4 separate regions of the Homo sapiens genome follow, and all the other regions are linked to region 1. The links are contacts of gene promoters, found by promoter capture Hi-C in human tissues and cell types (Jung and others, 2019). All regions are on one chromosome and are shown on one strand. Each heading gives the region's core, a stretch centred on a gene start or on the middle of the fragment in contact. The rest is flanking DNA. Distances are from core to core; before and after follow the strand shown. Region 1 holds the start of MAGI2 (membrane associated guanylate kinase, WW and PDZ domain containing 2). Region 2 has its middle 310 kb from the start of MAGI2. Region 3 overlaps LOC105375371 (a long non-coding RNA gene). Region 4 has its middle 280 kb from the start of MAGI2.

Region 1 (4,448 bases), core at 1,432-3,931:
GGAGCCCCTTTCTTTCTGCAGTGTTCCCCTAGCACCTTCTATTGACAAAGCTAAACACTGTGCCAACTGACCATAAAGACGTTTACAGATTTCAGCTCTAATGTCACAATTTAGGGCAAAGAAGGGTAGCTGTGAAGTTGAAGAGCACTAAGTTAACTGGCACTGACCTCAGTGACACTCCTGGGATTTGGGGGATGGGAGGAGCATGCTGTTATGCCCAAATCCTGCTCCGTTTGTTTACTTTTTTCCTAATTGTCTCTGAAAGAAAGAGCAGGCCCAATCTTTTGGGACACTATGTAGTGAGAACTGGTATGACACATCGTAAGTGCACAGAGAGTTCAATTCAGTAACTGAGACAAAGTCTAGAGCCGAACCACTTGGGTCTGAACGTTAGCTTCACTATTAACAAGATTTGTAGCCTTGCAAAAGTTCATCCTTGTATACCTCAGTTTCCTTACCTGTAAAAGGAGATAACAGTACCTATTTTATCAAAATGTCAGGAGAAATTAAGTATTATGTGTAAAGCCTATAAAACAACATCTTGCATGTAGTTAGAACCTAATAAATATTAGTATATTCCATGAATGGTAGCTTGTCATTTGGTTTTACAATATGTATATATTCGGTTCTCATGATGAGTTTCCATTTAGAACTATGCCTCATAATGCTAACACTCAACTTCTCTGGGTGAGATTAGGCTTTGCTATCAAGTCTTGCCTACTCCTGGGCATTGCCTGCAGCTCTGGCTTCAGATCCTGGCACTGCCCCTGGCTCACTGAATAAGCTTCAACTAGTGCAGCCAACTTACGGAGGATCTGTTTTCTCAAGTGAAAAAAAGACACAAGGTTAAACAAATCATCTTTTTTTAAGATCTCTTCCAGTTCTGACTACATTTGATCCCCCTCATCCCCAAGTAGTAAGTTATACCTAAGAGGGAAAGAGGAGGGAATTATCATTTCGAACTCCTACTCACCTGTGCCAGGAGAGCACTGCTGTGACTGATTTCCCTGATTTCATCCTCACCACAGTCCTAACAGATTAGTATTGTTAAAGTCCATTTAACAACTAAGAAAGCTGAGGCTCAGGAAGGTCAAGCAGTTTACTCAAGATCATATTCTCAGTAAGCCGCAGAGTCTGGATTGAAACCTGGTCTTTCTGTTTGGGTCGACTCAACATTTTTAACCGTATTGTTTGCCTCCTACATCGCCTTCATCTCAGACATTAAGAATCCTACCTATTCAATGCTTTTCATCCTCCGCTTTAAAGAGATAAGTGGGTGCACAACTTTTTTTTTGCCTGAAACATATCATCTAAAAGTTAAGCAAATGAAATTCATTTACCAGTTACAGGAATCTTTTTCTTAAATCACTGTTAATGTCTCACAGGAAATTAGCTCTTCAGTGGAAATCAGCAGCCTCCCTGCATCCTTTTGCCCCTGTCCTCCCCTCTCTTGGATGCAAACCTGGCGAAAAGAAGGGAACACTGCTTGGGGTCAGCGAGCTGAGTTCCAGCTCCGAATGTACCATTTTCACCCTCGGGAGTCTTCTCCCCTTTCTCTGTGAGCAAAGGAGTGTTGGGCCAGACCGTCTTAAGGATTCTTCCCCAGGTACAAGCCGGACTCTGGCGGCTTTCCTGGGCAAGGGAGTGTCTCCGCCTTGTCTCTGCCGCAGGTCCCTGGTTAAATTGTCAATTTCTCTGCGGAGGCTGCTCACTGCATCCGCTCCCTCCACCCCTAGCCCTGTAGACCCCTTCTCTTTCCCCTACTTGGGAAAAGTGAAGCCCCTTATCCTTGGATAGCCTTTCACCAGACAACCGCAGCCGTCCGCTAAATTCCCCTACTGGCGGGACGCGCGGGCGGGGGCCTGCCCCGGGGAATGCGAGGCTGCTTCCCTTCTGCGTAATCAGGGTACGCAGCCTCCAGTTCTCTAACTTTCTCCTTCTCTAAGAGGGAATTTCGAGAACTTTAAGACAAATAAGTGACTATATAGATGAAGACATGAAACCTCTCTACACAGTGAACTCCCCCACGCTACAAGGCTCCCAGGGATCCCAGGCCTTCTCCCGCAATGCCCCGCCGGGTCCCCCGCCCCAACTCCTTCTCACGGCAGGATCCCGCGCCAGGACGCTCGCAGAGCCCGAGATGTGGCACCAGGCGCGCCACAAGTCCAGGTCCCGCTATTTCTGCTCCATCGGAGCCCAGGTCGGAGGGAGTCAGCGCGTCCTCCTCGCACAGGAGCCTGGCGCGCGGCTCGGTCGCACAGAGGCTGAAGAAAGGTCCGCACTGGGCTCGAGGCCCTTCCTGCCGGCCTCCCCACGCCGGGCCTAGGCTCCCCTCCTTCCCGGCTCCCGCCTCCTCCCGTAGGCTGCCAGGCGGACCCAGCCTGCCTCTCTCTCTGCCTTCACTACCGGGTCAAGCTGCGGAGGGAGGGAGGGAGGCAGCGGCGAAGCCCTCCGTGGCTCCCCACCCGGCGCGCGCGCCCCTCCTCCCCTGCCTCCTCCCGTCTGCCAGTACAGTAGAACTAGTACACACACACACACACACACACACGCACACGCACCCTGCCACTGCAGCTGCCATGGATATCAGCTAACAACACACACCCAGGCGCGCGCGCGCGTTCCCACTCGCACCACGCAGGAGTGGCCCCCGGCATCCCTACCCTCCTTCCCCACCCCCACCACACCCGCTCACCAGCTCGGCTACTGCTCGCTCCGGCTGCCGCCGCCGCCGCCGCCGACGCCACCACCACTGCTTCCTCTGCTGCGGGGCCACAGCCTTGAGTGTCATTCAAGGGACAGCACAACCTCATCCAAGCTCTCCTACCTCTGCCCAGCCGTCCCTCTCATCCTCCCCATTCCTCGTCCACACTCCATCCAAAGAAGAGGGAAAGCACCGAATAGAGGGGGGCGAAGGCAAAGTCTGCTGTTCTTCCCCCTGGGCCCCCTTGCTCCTCCATCCTCATTCTCTCACCACCAGCCCCCCTAACCCCAAGGAGCCCAGGAACTGAGGCGACTCGCCCCACTGCCATGTCCAAAAGCTTGAAAAAGAAAAGCCACTGGACTAGCAAAGTCCATGAGAGTGTCATTGGCAGGAACCCGGAGGGCCAGCTGGGCTTTGAACTGAAGGGGGGCGCCGAGAATGGACAGTTCCCCTACCTGGGGGAGGTGAAGCCCGGCAAGGTGGCCTATGAGAGCGGCAGCAAATTGGTGTCGGAGGAGCTGCTGCTGGAGGTGAACGAGACCCCCGTGGCGGGGCTCACCATCAGGGACGTGCTGGCCGTGATCAAACACTGCAAGGACCCCCTCCGGCTCAAGTGTGTCAAGCAAGGTGAGAGCAGCGGCTTGCTCAGTGTTTTGCCGGGCGGTGGGACCGCTCGGGGCGCAGGGCAATGAAAGGGTGGCCGCGCATGTTGAAGGGGGTGTGTTGCGCGATGATGGGGTGGGGGCCAGAGAGCACCCGCAGTGCAAGTGAGTTTCGCCGGGGATTCGACTTGGGGGCTAAAGGGAGGGGAGGGGCAGGTTGTGGTGTGGCGTGCAACTTTGTTTGCTCAGTTAGACCCTCCCCTTTGGAAGGTGCTCGGCCTGGTCTGACCTCCTCAGAGCTGCTGGGGCAAATTGAATGTGCGTCAGTGGCATCACCCGAAGCGGATGAAGAGCTTTTGGGGAAGGGAGGAAGGAAGAAAAGAAAGAAAGAATGGGAGGAAGGGAGGGAAAGAAGGAAGGAGCAACTTCAGGGTGCAGCGGCATCACCAGCGGGTCTGGGAAGAGAAGGTGGTGGGGTGAGCGGAGAACTGCGTCCAGCGTTTCTGGGGCTGGGCTGGGGGCGCCTGGGTCCCCAGCTGTCCCTTAGGGATCCGTGAGCCACCGCTGGCGAAGAAAAGAAGGGACAAATTGCTTTGGGCGCTTTGACGGGTCTTCTGTAACTTTTCCCCTTCTTCACTCCGTGTCCCCCTCCCCCGCTCACGGTCGTGTCATGTGGGCATCGCGCGTCACGTGCGTACTGACTAACCCCTGCGCTCACCCCTAGCCAGCCCGGGGGAGGAGGCTCCGGAAGAAGGCGCGGTGCTAGGAGCGCAGTCTAGTGCTGGGCGGGGGTCGGAGGAGATGAATGGTTGTCGGAGGAGATGAATGGTTGTCCGCATGGACTTTACTCAGGGGTTGCCCTCATTGAGTGGAAGTCCTCTGTGGTTGGGCTCTCCTCTGGCTCCGATTTGGGGGGCGTGTTTTGGGGGAGGAGCTGGATGAAACCCTGGCCGGTTCCAGCCCAGGCTCCCTCAGCTCCAACCTGACTTAAATGAACCTCAATTGGAGGCTGTGATGTGGATTTGGGGAGATTGGAATCATCCAGAACTCCCTGTCTTTGCTCGAAAGAAAATTATGGTGCAGAAGGAGAGAAGAGTGAGATAAAAGTTTGAATAGAGGACAACTTTAAGTAGAATAAAGTAGTA
Region 2 (4,713 bases), core at 1,352-3,851, 310 kb before region 1:
CATACAGTATTTGGTTTTCTGTTCTTGTGTTAGTTTGCTGAGAATGATGGCTTCTAGCTTCATCCATGTCCCTGCAACGGTCCTGCACTTATTCTTTTTCTATGGCTGCATGGTATTCCATGGTGTAGATGAAGTTACAACAGAAGGATGAATCCCTTTATGTAAGGAAAAATGTGATAGTTCTCAATTGGTCACCCTTATTTCTCCTGACCTCAGAGAAATTTTGTTTAGTTTTTGTCTCAAAAAACACAGGTGTGCCTCTTCTCTCTCTGGTTTGATGACCTAGCAAGATAGAACTGAAGGCACAAAGCGCTCATTAGATAAAAGGTGTCACTCTTACTGTTTACTTTTTTTATTAATACGTTCCTAACAGTTGCATCTTAGTATGTCTGCAGTACATATAAGAATTTGAGATGCAGAGAGAAAAGTTATCCTGAGTGGGAACATAATTTTAAAAATATGCCTACTTCAGTAGTATGTTTCTCTTTTACATTTACTGTAGTTAATGAGCCCACTACATTCTCTGTGTAGTATTATTTAAAAGCGTGGATTGAGAATATAAAACCACAGTATTTAAAATCAACTAGAAAGTGTCTTATGCCTCTGGCATATTGTTATACCATGTTTACTGTCACAGGAATATCTAAATAAGTTTTCTCTATTTCACAAGAACTGATTCTATTTAACTTTTATTTCATTAAAAAATTATTGACTGCTGCTTATTTTGTATTTTCCCATTTTTACTGTATATTAGTAAACAATGAAGGTGTCTTCTTTAAATGGTTTAATAATTATAAATCCTATAGGATATGTTATTTCTGATATAGTCTAATTGAGTGCATTCCCTAGAGAAGCTACCGTTTTAGTAGACTTTTCACTGTCGGCATTCCGTGTACACATCTTACGGGGCTTCATTTACTGATGCCTAAATCTTTAACCTGAGAGATAATCATAAAGATAAATACTAATTCAGAACCCTTCACAATGTAAAAATCATTTAAGTCCTTTCATTTACAATGTATTATTTAATTAATCAAGAATGGGTTGCCCATTTAATTTATGAAGAAAAAAAGTGAATGCCTTTGAAATCTTTGCTACAAACTTAGGTGGACTCAAAAACAAAATCTGTGCTACAAGTATATTTCACAGCTTTCTATTAGACGACTTTCATTCCTGTAACCGTTTCAATTTTCTTCACAGTTTAAAGAAAAATATTGGATTTGCCTCTACATAAGACTATATCTGTTCATAAAGTCCACCTAGATTAGCTGAACCAGTAAAATTAATCAAGGATTAAAATTAATACCTACATATAGGCACAATCTAAGTTGGTTGATTACTACTGACATATAAATCTGCATTTGTTCTTGTGACTCGAGTCTTGAGAAAATTTGAGAGCTCTTGGGAGGTTGAAGAAAACTTGTTAAGATTGGTGAAGTTGTGGAGAACACGAAAAAAACAAAAACAAGAGTTCAAATAGCCAAACACTTTATTGGCAACCATTTTTTTGATCTACAGCAGTGAGTGATTTGAAGTGAAGTCTGGTGATGAACTGTTTGGGAACAAACATCTCATCCACCAGAAGTCAGCATGACAAACCAAATTGATGGAAGCAGAAAGGGTCTGAGAGGAATTCAAAATGGTACCACGACTCCCAGCAAATTGGACTGAAGTCCTCTGCTTGGCCTGGAAGTAATGAGAAATGAGACCTGACTGAAAAGACTATTTGAGCACAGTGGCTACAAATATTGAGTGGTAAAATAAGGTCTGAAGGCCAGTTTCCTCATTGTGTGCCCTAAAGACTACAGTTACATAGAAACATTAGGAACAAAGAAACGTCATGTTTGAAAATAGCAAAATTTTAACAGACCTGAATAAGAAGTGAAGAAGAAACTTCCAGGGGAGCCTCCAGTGGCTCAGGATCAGCTCTTCATAAAACACCAGAGTAGTGGGGATTGAAAACTGTTTGTGCTTTTCCAAGATTTTGCAGCATTGAAAGGGTAATGCTTTCCTGGAATAGACGTTCACTTTCTTAAAATTCAAAGCTCGTATAGGGTTCTTCGCTTTGCCGTCTCTTTCAAATCATGCAGAATCACCCAATCCTAGTTATATTATAATGTGTTGGCCAGAAAATTGCTATTGTCCACTAATTTTGTTCAAGTGTCCAGTTGGTTCATCTAGCACTTCTTAAATATTTGATAAGTTTTTTCCAGGAAACTGGCATTTTTTTTTCTGTCTGGATCTGTATCTCCCTCTGTCATTGCACGTAGGTCTAAATATACATGGCCAAATATGTGTATGTTTGTATATATTAATCCCACTACCCAAAGACCATCAGAAACATACCTATTATAGTCAAACACATTTATGTGTATTAATTTGCTACAGTAAGGAAAATCATGCACCATGGAAATTGTGGAGAGGGAATTAAGAGGGACTTATGATAGGATTATTATAAATTCAATCTTATTCGGGATAATTTGAGGGAAAGTTTAAGGAACTATTGGTTTGTTTGGAATTAGGTACTGTCAGGTAGTAGAACCAATTTGTATTAATTTGAATAGGAGGTGGGAGATGCTAAGTTGGGCTGGAATTGTCACTGGAGAAGAAGCAGTAGTCATTCATATTTGCCAGGAGAGAAGGATATTTGTCATTGTGATGTTTGCACTTGTGGTGTGTTGTCTTGTTCCAGTTTGGTGACAGAGTGATCTCATCTGATGCTAACATTCTCTGAAATTGTTAATGCCCAGCAGGGCACACCACAGCATGGTCATGAGCTGCCAAGCTGGCTACAAGCTATCAGCAGCTATACAATTTTTTCTCAGCAGCTATATTTTTTACCGGAAGCACTAGCTAATTAAACTTTAATTTCATAGTAGCTTAATTAAAACCTTCTTAATGTAGAATGGATAAATCTGAGATGAGTCTTATAAGCAAGTAAGAAGAGACTTCATAATCATCTAACAGATCGGTACCTCTATGCTTAGTCAAATAGATAGATATGAACGTACAGTAAGGGATGCTGCAATAATGTTTTGCCACACATTTTGTGAAACATTGAAGTATAATTTTTTAAAGACACAATTTTAAAAGAAAAGAAAAGAAAATTAAAAACACAATATTAGGCTTTGAGGAATTTAGGATCTATTAAAAATTGTAAGTAGCCACTAATTTAAGGTGCAAGATTTTTGAGTAGATCAAGATAATGTGTGAAGAGTGCTTTAAACATTTGATGTGCAAATAGAAGGCATTTTTTCTTTATTAATATTAAATGCAGTCTAGTCTTTAGACTGGGGTTGGGGGAAGACTAATATTATGTAAAGTTGAACTTTTTTTAAGTTTAGAATTCAGTTCTATTTCGATGATTTGGATGAAACTTTAAAAATTTTGTAATTTAAAAGCAAGTCAGTCTGGTAAATTAAAACTATCAGCAACAGGAAAATGTAGATTCCCCACCAAAACTTATACATTTATCTTCTGGGTGAGTTTTATCCATTTCTCCTTACAGAGTTTCATGAAAGCTTTATGTTATAACCATGAAATGGACTTATTAAACCCTAGGATTAGAGTGTATCATATGTCATGCAGATAGCTGCCAAGAAGTACCCAGAGAAAAAAATAATTTGTAGGGCACCTTGTGGTACTATAACTTCAAATATTTCCTTATACTGCCTCCAAAGGTAAAAGTGAAGAGAAATTACTGGAAATTATTGGCAAAAAAAGTAACTTGTTATACTTACAGGATATGCTTGAAAGTTCTGTCTAAAAAGGACAACCATAAAAGTTAGTTTTACAATTTCTTTGGTAATGTCTTAGAACCTCTACTGCAATATGGGTTTTATATGTATGGTAGTTATTTACATTATACTTAAACTACGAGATATATACGTTTGCTGAAACTGGTTTTGAGAAACAATATCTGGCAGAAAAAAAGGAAATCTTTTATGATATTTTTTTTGGTCATGGTTGCTTCCTTGCCATCCTAATTTTGATGAATTTTTGTAAAATTAATTATCCTTATATACTCACATATATGTACATATTGTCAATATGGCATGATACTACGATACCATCTGTTTTAACCTTCTGGCTATGCCAGTAAAATACATATTATGGTCTTATAAGTTCAATGCCCCTGTGAACCTATAACCTTCTAATTTGATCTGCTTCCACTGAAGGTTCATTCAGTCTCTTTTCAAACTCTTAGATTAATGACATTTCTAAACAGAGGGAGTTTAAGGAACCCTAGGTAAAAAGTCAGCAACTTGGCTTCAAACAGAATTTGCAGTGCACCTATCTGATATTCATTTAATCAGAACTTCAACCACCAATTTATGTCTTTTGCTGTGCGATTTCAGCTAGCTGACGGTACCTGGTTCTTCTCAACCATGAAAATTCTCTTGAAGACATCAAGATTGGAAAGAAAAAAATTATCTTTATTTGCAAATGACATGACCTTATGAAAAATTCTAAGGATCCACTAAAATACTATTAGAACTAATGTAGATTTAGCAAAGTTGTGGGGTACAAGATCAATATACAAAAATTAATTATATTTTTATATACAAGTGATCCAAAGTGAAATTTAGAAAACAATTCCATTTAAAAGAGCATCAACAAGAATAAAATGCTTCTGAATATACTAAATGGCTATCCCTGACCCGACCTGGTGGTCTTTCTCTACCCACCCTGGTAGCCAAAGGAAAAGGTCAT
Region 3 (4,580 bases), core at 540-3,039, 330 kb before region 1:
GATAAAACATGGCTAGACTGATGTTCTTGCTTTTCAATGCAATAGCTGTAGAAATTCACGTATATTGAAGAATGTAATGTTAATGTTTTAGGGAGAAGTTTGAAAGATAAAATGATATTTATATAACATATTAAATAATATTTATAATATATAAAATATATGAATTATTATATACCTGCCAAACATATTTATGCATATATACACATATATATATGTGTGTGTGTGTGAGGGTCAGTGTGTGTTTTTAATGCATTTATATATAGATACGAAGATACTATAAACTCAAAGCTTAATCCTTCTTAATCTTTAGAAGGATAAATTTACTTTCGGGAATAAAATAATTTATTTGTGTGAAAGCCCTCTGATTCATCAATAGGGAATATTAAGGAAAATTCATTAATCCATAGCAGCATGTCAATAGAAAAGGGATGCAGAATACCTTCTGGACAATCAAATTAAAAATATATGCACTTTTAGATGGTTTTCTTGTAATATCAGTCTGCTTTTATCATCTAGACCAGAGGAACTAACTTACTGGCAGAAAATTTCAGTTCTGAAAGTTGGTACTGTAGTAACACAGGAATGGTACGTTTTTGTCTCAGAAAAAGACAATCAAAGCAAAGTGCATGTTTCATGTAAACTGTCGCTCAGCATTTTGATATTCTGTTTTTCTGGTACAGAGAACTACTTTAAAAGATGATTCAGAAACCTCACAGAGAAAGAAATGGGAAAATTGTCAGCCTGTTGGCAATGTTAAGAAACCACAAATGGCTGATAAATAATCGCTGTCTATCATGCAGAGCCAAGAAAAAACAGAAAAACAAATGAAGAAAATCACAAAAACAACTGCAAGAAGCCAAAAAGAATGTGAGTCTTAACAGTAAAGAATGAAGTCTTATTGTGGAAGAAAAAAGTGCATGAACAGAAAGGATAGCGTGTAAGAAGATGAAATAAGAAACATAGCAGAATATAGTACAAAACATAGAGGTTACAAAGATCAGGTGAAATAAGGTGTATGACAGAAAGAAATAAACATGCAAGAGTAAAATGTAGCACAGATGCAAAATAATTAAAACAAGGAATATTATACCAACTTCTACTTAGACCCAAAGCTTTGTGAGACTGGCAATAGCAGGATGCTGAGATATTTGCTATCTTCTGAATCTCAGCTGCAACCAGCACAGCTATTTTTCTCAAGTTATGAAACGAATATTCCAGCTGGAGAGATCATTAAAGGCTTGCTGTCATTTTGAATTTACTTGATCCTTCAGTGAACATATCAATTAAGACACTCTGCCTAAATAAAAAAGAGACCCTTTACTTGGGAACTGTCATTACAGCCATGTCTGTGGACCCTAGAGCCAACTCTGTAGTGTCATCGATAATAGCATGAAACTCTAGAGCCATAGTGTCTGGGTTCATATACTACTTTTGCCATTTATTTCCTATGTGACCTTTGACAAGCAGTGATACCTCTTATCACCTCAGAGTTCTCATTTGTGAAAAGGAAGCAATTAGGCTATCTCATGAAGTTATGACAGGGATTAAATGTATTGAGTTATATAAAGTATTGGAATAATGTATGTCACATACTAAGCACTATCTGCTTATTAAAGGAATAACTACAACTGTATATGCCTATTAGTGGTACTCTCTTATTCATTCAATGAATACTTATTGAGCACCTGCTATTTGCATTATTCCAGGAACTTTGGATTCGGTTGTTAATAAAATGGACATAAATCCTTATCTTTTTGGAAATGACATTCATAGGTATATTTTAGTAGAAATATTCTAGGTATAAAGATGATAATAATATCTCATTAGGCTCTGTTCCAATTTCTTTAGATATATTATTGTTATGGACTGAATCTATGTATTCCCCCAAAATTCATATATCGAATATGGCCACCCCTAACCTCCACAGTGGCCATATTGGAGTAAGGAAATAATTAAGGTTAAATGAGTGAAGTGGGGACCTGATCTGATAGAATTCGTTTACTTACAAAACAATACACAAGAGCTTTCTCTATCTCTCTCTCTTTCTGTCTCTCTCATCTCACTCTGTGTGCATGCAAGGCCATGTGAGGATGCAGTGAGAAGGCACCATCTGCAAGCCAGGAAGAGGGTTCTCACCAGAAACTGAACCCTGCCTGAACCGTGATCTTCAACATTCCAGCCTCCAGAACCAAGAGAAAATAAATCTCTGTTGTTTACGACAGCCAGTCTGTGGCGTTTTGTTACGACAGTATGAGCAGACTAAGACAATTATCAACCATGACAAGTAGTTTCTATTCCATATCCCATTCCATAGATAAAGAAAGTGAGTTGCAGAAATATTAGCTAAGATATCAAATACCTGTATGTTTCTAAGTACTTGTCTTTCTTCCCATTTTTAATCTGTTTTTTATTTGGTATTTATTTATTCATCTATTCATTCATTTATTCAACAAACAGCTATGAATATTTTCTGGCAGACCATGAGTTCAAAGCCAGAAATTCTGGCTTCAGAATTCCTCCTCTTAATCAGTTCATTTTGCTGCCTCAATTAACAATTTGCCAAAGCTGGAAAAAATTTCAGCCGTGTTGAGCTTATTACAGACTTCTAATTCCCATTTGTTTTCCAATTCAAGGATAATATCTAGTGTTGGATTACAAAATACTTGAATAAATTAGTATCGTCTGAGTAGTATTCCTCATTCTCTAATACAGTGCACTGAAACAGTCATAATGGCACGAAACTCTACCTTCTAAATATCTCTTGAACACATCATTCCCACCCAGTTTCCATTCCTGTGGCCTTGGTTCGTGTTCTCATTACTGTCAAGTCCAGAGATGTATGTTTCAGTCACATCAATTTCTTAGCCAGCCTTTCTTTCTTTATGCTTGTTTCATAATGTAACTCAAAAGCATGTGTCTGAATGTTTATCTCATACCTATAACCTTTAACTGTTCAGAAGATATTGAATCCCTGACTCATTATAATGGCAAGCAAACCCTTTCATTATTTTCCTCTCACTTAGTTCTCTAACACAGTGCCTGGCTTGGAATGATATCAGTTCTTCAAAATATTACTTAGATGTTAGTTCAGAAAACATTTCCTGCTCAATCCCTCTGAATGTATTACATTTCCCACACCTTGTATATTTTCCCATCCTGTCATTATTACTCAGTATTAAAAATTTACTTGTTTATCTGATACTTCTAATAGATTGAACTTCCTTTGGGCAGGTTTTGTGCCTCATTCATTTTTATATGCCTAGGTTTAGCATAATATTTGGCACAGACTAGTTCAATAAATGATTGTTCAATTAAATAGTATCAGGACAACCCCTGAGGAAATAGACACCCAATAATATAATTGTTCCATTAGCTATTACTAATTTTTACTCATCTGATCATTATTTACAATAAGGAATAAGTTGGTGTCAAAGACAAAAACATTACTATTTCTCTCAAAGGATTTAATTGTTTTGTTTTTTTCAGACTGACATAAAAATGGGTATTTGGTAGATCTTCCTACCTAGCAGTTTTCAGATAAACAATTTGGAAGAATAACCAGCAATCAAAGTCTCATCATCTCTGCCTATCTCATATTCATTTGAAAAATTTAAAAGCCAGTGCCAATGTATGGAATAAATAGTTATTAGGCAAGCACATAAATACAAATATTGTCACCTCTAGGACTTCACATCGGTGAAGAACACAACTGTAAAAATCACTCTTAGATTGTAAACAGCAGGGATTTAATACAAGGAACTGGTTTTGGAGGTAAGGAATGAAAAAGCTGAAATACTAAACAGGAAATCTGTAAGGTTACCCAGAGATTAAGAAGCAATACTACTACAACCCTTAGGACTGAGTGCCAAAGGGAACAAGTAGTGTCACCAGAATTCAGAGATCATAATAATCTAGGGGAAGCTGGAATCAGGGTGGGCTTTTCTAGAGGGAGATAGAGGCTGGGAAGAAGCACAGCTTTTGCCAAAGACACCATTTTAGACAGAAAATAGAGAGAGGAATATATCCTTGACTGACCCTTTCTCTCACTCTCTCACCTCCTGACAATGTCTGTCATTGACTGAACCCAGGTGGAGACCCACTAGCATGGATCCCAGAGAATGCAGAGTTCAGTGACTGTCTTTCCTTTTCCTGTGATACACAACAAAGCATAGAAATTTTGACATTTCTACAAGGAGAACTACAAAACACTGCTGAAAGGAATCAGAGATGACAAAAATAAATGGAAAAACATTCTATGCTCATGGTTTGGAATAATCAATATCATTAAAATGACCATACTGCCCAAGACAATTTACAGATTCAATGCTATTCTTTTCAAACTAACGAGGTCATTCTTCACAGAATTAGAAAAAAAACTATACCAGAATTCATATGAAACCAAAAAAGAGCCCAAATAGCTAAAGCAATGCTAAGTAAAAAGAACAAAGCAAGAGGCATCACACTACCCAACTTTAAACTGCATTATAAAGCTATGGTAACCAAAACAGCACGGCACTGGTACAGAAAAGAGAAATATAGACCAATGGAACAGATTAGAGAGCCCAGAAATAAAGTCGCAC
Region 4 (5,010 bases), core at 560-3,059, 280 kb before region 1:
TGTAATGCAGACGTGTGATTGGAAAAGAAGAGGGTATGGTAATAAACTGAGGGGAATTTGGCTAGCCTGTTTCTTCATACGTTCCTTATGTGTGGGTAGAGGGTGGACACCTCTGGAATAAAGGTTCTATGACCTACTTCAGATTCAGATAATTCTCTTATAGCCTGCTTTACGGGAGAGTAGCGAGAAGAAAGTGAGAATAAACTTCTGCTGCTGCTTCCTTGAATGCCAAAATGCCATATTTTAGAGTAATATGTCCTGAACTCGATCAGAGAATGGAAAGAAATATACAAACTAAAATATCTTTTCAGGCCACACAGAGATTATAATTCTTTTAGTGTTAAACTGAAATTTAAATTATTTCTTATTTCATCTTTATTCCATAAATTTTTTTAAATCCTATAAAAATATCTCATTGGTATGTTTTCTGTCTTCCTTTTTAGTATGTATGAAATTGATGAATATATTTCTGAATATATAAATTCCTGTAATTTTCTTCACATTGTTCAAAAGTACATCAGAAAAAAGCCATGGGTCATTTAATCTATGGAACATATTAAGAGGAATTAAAGACTGAAGATTTTGCGAACCTAAACTTTTAAGATAATTTTTTTCAAAATACTTATTTTTCCTTCAAATTTCTTTTGTCTTAACTTTTATTTTAGGTTCAGGGGTACATATGCAGGGTTTTTGTGTAGGTAAATTGTACATCACGAGGGGTTGGGGTACAGATTGTTTCATCACTCGGGTAATAAGCATAATACCTGATTGGTAGTTTTGTGATCCTCTCCCCTCTGCCACTCTCCACCCTCAAGTAGGCCTGTTATCTGTTGTTCCCTTCTTTGTATTCATTTGTACTCAGTGTTTTGCTTCCACTTATAAGTGAGAACATGTGGTATTTGGTTTTCTGTTCTTGTGTTAATTTGCTTAGGATAATGGCCTCCGGCTCCATCCATCTTGCTGCAAAGACATGATCTCATTCTTTTTATAGCTGCATAATATTCCATGATGTATATGTACCACAGTTTCTTTAACCAGTCTACTGTTGATGGGCATTTAGATTGATTCCATGTCTTTGATACAGTGAATAGTGATTATCATATATGTGCATGTGTCTTTATGGTAGAATGATTTATATTCCTTTGAGTTTACCCAATAATGAGATTGCTGGGTTGAATGGTAATTCTATTTTAAGTTCTTTGACAAATCACCACACTGCTTTCTACAATGGCTGAACTAATTTACATTCCCACTAGCAGTGTCTAAGTGTTCCCTTTTCTTAGCAACCTCACCAACATATTTTTTTTTAACTTTTTAATAATAGCCATTCTAACTGGTGGTATGGTATGTGCAGGTAGATAGTGTATATCTCTGGAATAAAGATTCTTATTGGTATCTCACTCATATTTTATGGTATTTCTTTGATGGCATCTCATTGTGGTTTTGATTTGCATATCTCTAATGATTAGTAATATTGAGCATTTTTTTCATATTTTTTTTGGCTGCATGTATGTTTTCTTTTGAGAAGTGTCTCTTCATGTCCTTTGCCTGCTTTGTAATGTTTGTTTTTTGCTTGTCAATTTGTTTAAGTTTCTTTTAAAATCTGGATATTAGACCTTTGTCAAATGCATAGTTTGCAAATATTTTCTCCCATTCTGTAGGTTGCCTGTTTACTTTGTTGATTGCTTTATTATTTAAATTGTCAGATAAAATTGCATGTATTTATCATGAACAACAGGATGTTTTGAAGAGTACATACATTATGAAATGGTTAAATCTACCTAATTATATATGCATTACCTCACATAGTTACCATTTTTGTGGTGAGAACACTTACTCACTGTGTTAGCATCTTTTAACAATAAAAAATATCATCACTAACTACAGTAACCATGCTGTACAATAGATCTCTTTATTCCTTCCATCTCACTGTAATTTGTGTCCTTTGACCAACATCCTCCCAAGTCCCTACTTGCAAAATGCCCCAGCCTCTACCAACAACCATTTTACTCTTTATTTCTATGGGATCAACTTTTTTACATTCTGCTCTGACCCTATATTATTTTTTTCCTTCTATTAATTTTTGACTTAGTTTGTTCTTGTTTTTTTTTTTCTTTTAGTTCCTTCAGGTGAAATGTTAAATTGCTTCTTTGAGAGCTTTTTTCTTTTTTGATATAGATATTTATTGCTATAAGCTTTCCTCTTGGAGCTGATTTTGCTGTATTACATAGGTTTTGGTATGTTGTGTTTCTAGGTTCATTTGCCTCCATTTATTTTTAAATTTCCCCTTTAATTTATTCTTTGACTCATTTGTGTTTTAAGAGCAATTCATTAATTTCCATGTGTTTCATGTGTTTCTAAATTTTCCAGAATTCCTTCTGTATAGATTTCTGCTTTCAAATTCTTGTGGTGAGAAATGATACTTTATTTATATATATATACAGACACACACATATATGTATTTACATGTATTTATATATATATGTATTTACCACTGTTATATTCTCTTGCTGTATTAACTCTTTTATTACATAAAAAACTTATTTGTTTCTTTTTACAGTTTTGACATAAAGTTTTGTTTATCTGATATAAAAATTGGTACTTCTGTTCCCTTTTGGTTTCTACTGACATGGAGTATTTTTTTTTTCAGCACCTTCACTTTCAATCTATATATGTCATTACGGATAAAATGAGTCTCTTGTAGGCAACGTATAGTTGGTTCTTGTTTTCAATTTATTCAGTCATGCTATATTTTTGGTTTGAAGAATTTAATCCCTTGATATTCAATGTTATTATTGATAGGTAGGGACTTACTACTGCCATTTTGTTAATTGCTTACTAGCTGCTTAGTAGCGCCTTTGTTCCTTTCCTCTTCCTTTATGGTAAAGTGATTTTTCATTAGCATTTCTTATAAGACAGGTGAGATGATGAACTCCCTCAGATTTTGTTTGTCTGGGAAAGTCTTTGTCTCTGCTTCATTTCTGAAGGAAAGCTTTCCTGGATACCACAGTCTTGATTGGCACCTTATTTTTCAGTATGTTATATATATCATTCCATTATCTCCTGGCTTGTAGGATTTCTATAAAGAAGTTGGCTTGTAGTTGTACTAAAACTGCCTTATATGCTATTTGCTTCTCTCTGCTTTCATGATTCTTTGTTTTGATTTTTGACAGTTTTATTATAATATGTCTTGGGGTAGTCTTATTTAGATTGAATTTGATTGAAGACTTCAAACTTTCCTGTGCCTGGATATTTATATCTTTCTTCAGTTTTGAAAAGTTCCCTATTATTTCTTTAAATAAGGTTTCTACACCTTTATCTTTCTTCTCTCTCTTGAATTTCAATAACTCATAAAAATTGCTCTTTTGATTCTGTCACATAAATCCTGCATGTCTGCTTTATTCTTTCTCATTACGTTTTTCTTTTAAAAAATATCTAACTGTATATTTTCAAATAACCTGTCTGAGTTTTCAGATTCCTTCTTCCGTTTAATCAAGTGCTGTTGATGTTCTCTACTGCATTTTTTCATTTGTTCATTGTATTTTTCAGCTCTAAGATTTTTGCTTTTAAAAAATTATTTCAATCTTCCCTTATATTTCTAATTATAATCACTTATTGTTTTCCTTATTTGTTTGAATTGTTTCTCTGCATTTTATGGAAATTTCCTTAGCTTCTATAAAACAGTATTTTTGTCAGGCTTTCATGCATCTCCATTTCTATAGGCTTAGTCACTGGCATTTTATTTTGTCTCTGGTGCTGTCACCTTTCCCTGTTTGATCTTGATCCTTGTGGCCATGCGTAGATGTCTGTGCACTTGAAAAATTAGGTACTTATACTTGTTTTTGTAGACTGGCTTTGTCTGGCAGCACCCTTTAATAGTAAGCTTGTCCAGAGATCCTTGGCAGGCCATCTCGTATGGTCCCTATGCCAAGGACAGCTTAGCCATTGCAGCACTGGGGGAACCCTAAGCCTGGGACCACTATGTCTGCTGGGGGTAGGATTGGAAACCTTGTGGCTGCTGAGGCTGGCATAGTGCTTGAGCAAGCCCAAAGACTCCTGGCTTCTGAAGCCTATCGTCCATTGAGATTTGTCCAGAGCTGAACACTGCTGTAGTCAGTAAGTAGTGATGTCAGCTGCAGATTGTGTCTGCCTTTCAGGAGCTATGGGTAGCCCCTGGCACTGGGGCAGGTCTGGAGGTCATTCCACAGGTACTTGCCTGGAATCAGGGGTCATGGGAGTCTGCCTGATGATGGGCTTTTCTGTGGCAGGCCTGGTTTTAGGGTCCAAGAAAAAGTCCTCTGCTTACTTGCCTCTCCTTCCCCCAAGCAGACAGCATATCTCTAAGTGTGGTGCTACCTGTGGTTGGGAGAAGGATGATGTGTGTAATCTAACACTGTTCTCCTATCCTCTTCCATGCATCTTTTTTGTTATTATGCATATCTAGGTACTGTAGTCTTGCACCTGTTTCACTTTACCTTTTTGAAGATTTTTGTGAGTGTATAGTTGTTCAAATTGATGTTTCTATGATGGGATGATCACTAAAGATTTCTTTTTTGCAATCTTGCAACATTACCCTCTTCCCAAAATACTCTTTACTGCACAGAAAATCCTGGCCTTCAAAGACAATAAACTTGAGTCAGTAAGAGATGCTTCCTATGTTCTAAGGAAACTTCCTTTAACACAACTACTCTTTGGAATTGTTATCATGTAGATCTGCGGAAATACAGAGATCTTTTAAGTGAATCTTGTTGGCATTTGATTTTTATAATTTTATTTTTCAAGGCAGTAATATTTAGACACTAAATAGGACAATAAAAATTTCAGAGACTTATCTGAATAATAAAGAGTATCTAGCCTATTCCATATTATTTATCAGACTTTGTCCTTCTAATTATGACAATGTTAATAAACACATATATTCTCTCATTTCCCTCAAAGTTTCTTCATGTGTGTGTGTACATAAATGACTCATATGTATGTTATGATAAAACAAGGATGAATAAAAGGAAA

Evidence for each region. Contacts are between HindIII fragments. The study calls those that stand out against the background at their distance.
Region 2: a fragment that was not itself captured here is called in contact with the fragment with the promoter of MAGI2 in region 1 in 2 of the 25 tissues and cell types used here (mesenchymal stem cells and spleen).
Region 3: a contact is called between a fragment that was not itself captured here and the fragment with the promoter of MAGI2 in region 1, in 2 of the 25 tissues and cell types used here (lymphoblastoid cells and mesenchymal stem cells).
Region 4: a contact is called between a fragment that was not itself captured here and the fragment with the promoter of MAGI2 in region 1, in 1 of the 25 tissues and cell types used here (IMR-90 fibroblasts).

The regions. Positions count from the first base shown.
Region 1 is chr7:79,451,900-79,456,347 of GRCh38, reverse strand. It overlaps MAGI2 (membrane associated guanylate kinase, WW and PDZ domain containing 2), which reads left to right and starts at 2,681. Exons shown (of 22, transcript NM_012301.4): 1 at 2,681-3,328. The coding sequence starts at 3,028. MAGI2-AS3 (MAGI2 antisense RNA 3) reads right to left here and starts at 3,391. Exons shown (of 4, transcript NR_038346.1): 1 at 3,157-3,391; 2 at 2,693-2,761. RefSeq lists an enhancer at 3,941-4,235. The HindIII fragment of the contact is 8,431 bases long and covers 1-4,448 here.
Region 2 is chr7:79,762,363-79,767,075 of GRCh38, reverse strand. No RefSeq gene overlaps it. Among named protein-coding and RNA genes, the nearest start is that of MAGI2, 310 kb to the right of the region's middle. The HindIII fragment of the contact is 7,009 bases long and covers 1-4,713 here.
Region 3 is chr7:79,783,973-79,788,552 of GRCh38, reverse strand. All of the region lies in intron 2 of LOC105375371 (a long non-coding RNA gene), which reads right to left. Among named protein-coding and RNA genes, the nearest start is that of MAGI2, 330 kb to the right of the region's middle. The HindIII fragment of the contact is 3,352 bases long and covers 114-3,465 here.
Region 4 is chr7:79,731,229-79,736,238 of GRCh38, reverse strand. No RefSeq gene overlaps it. Among named protein-coding and RNA genes, the nearest start is that of MAGI2, 280 kb to the right of the region's middle. The HindIII fragment of the contact is 3,258 bases long and covers 181-3,438 here.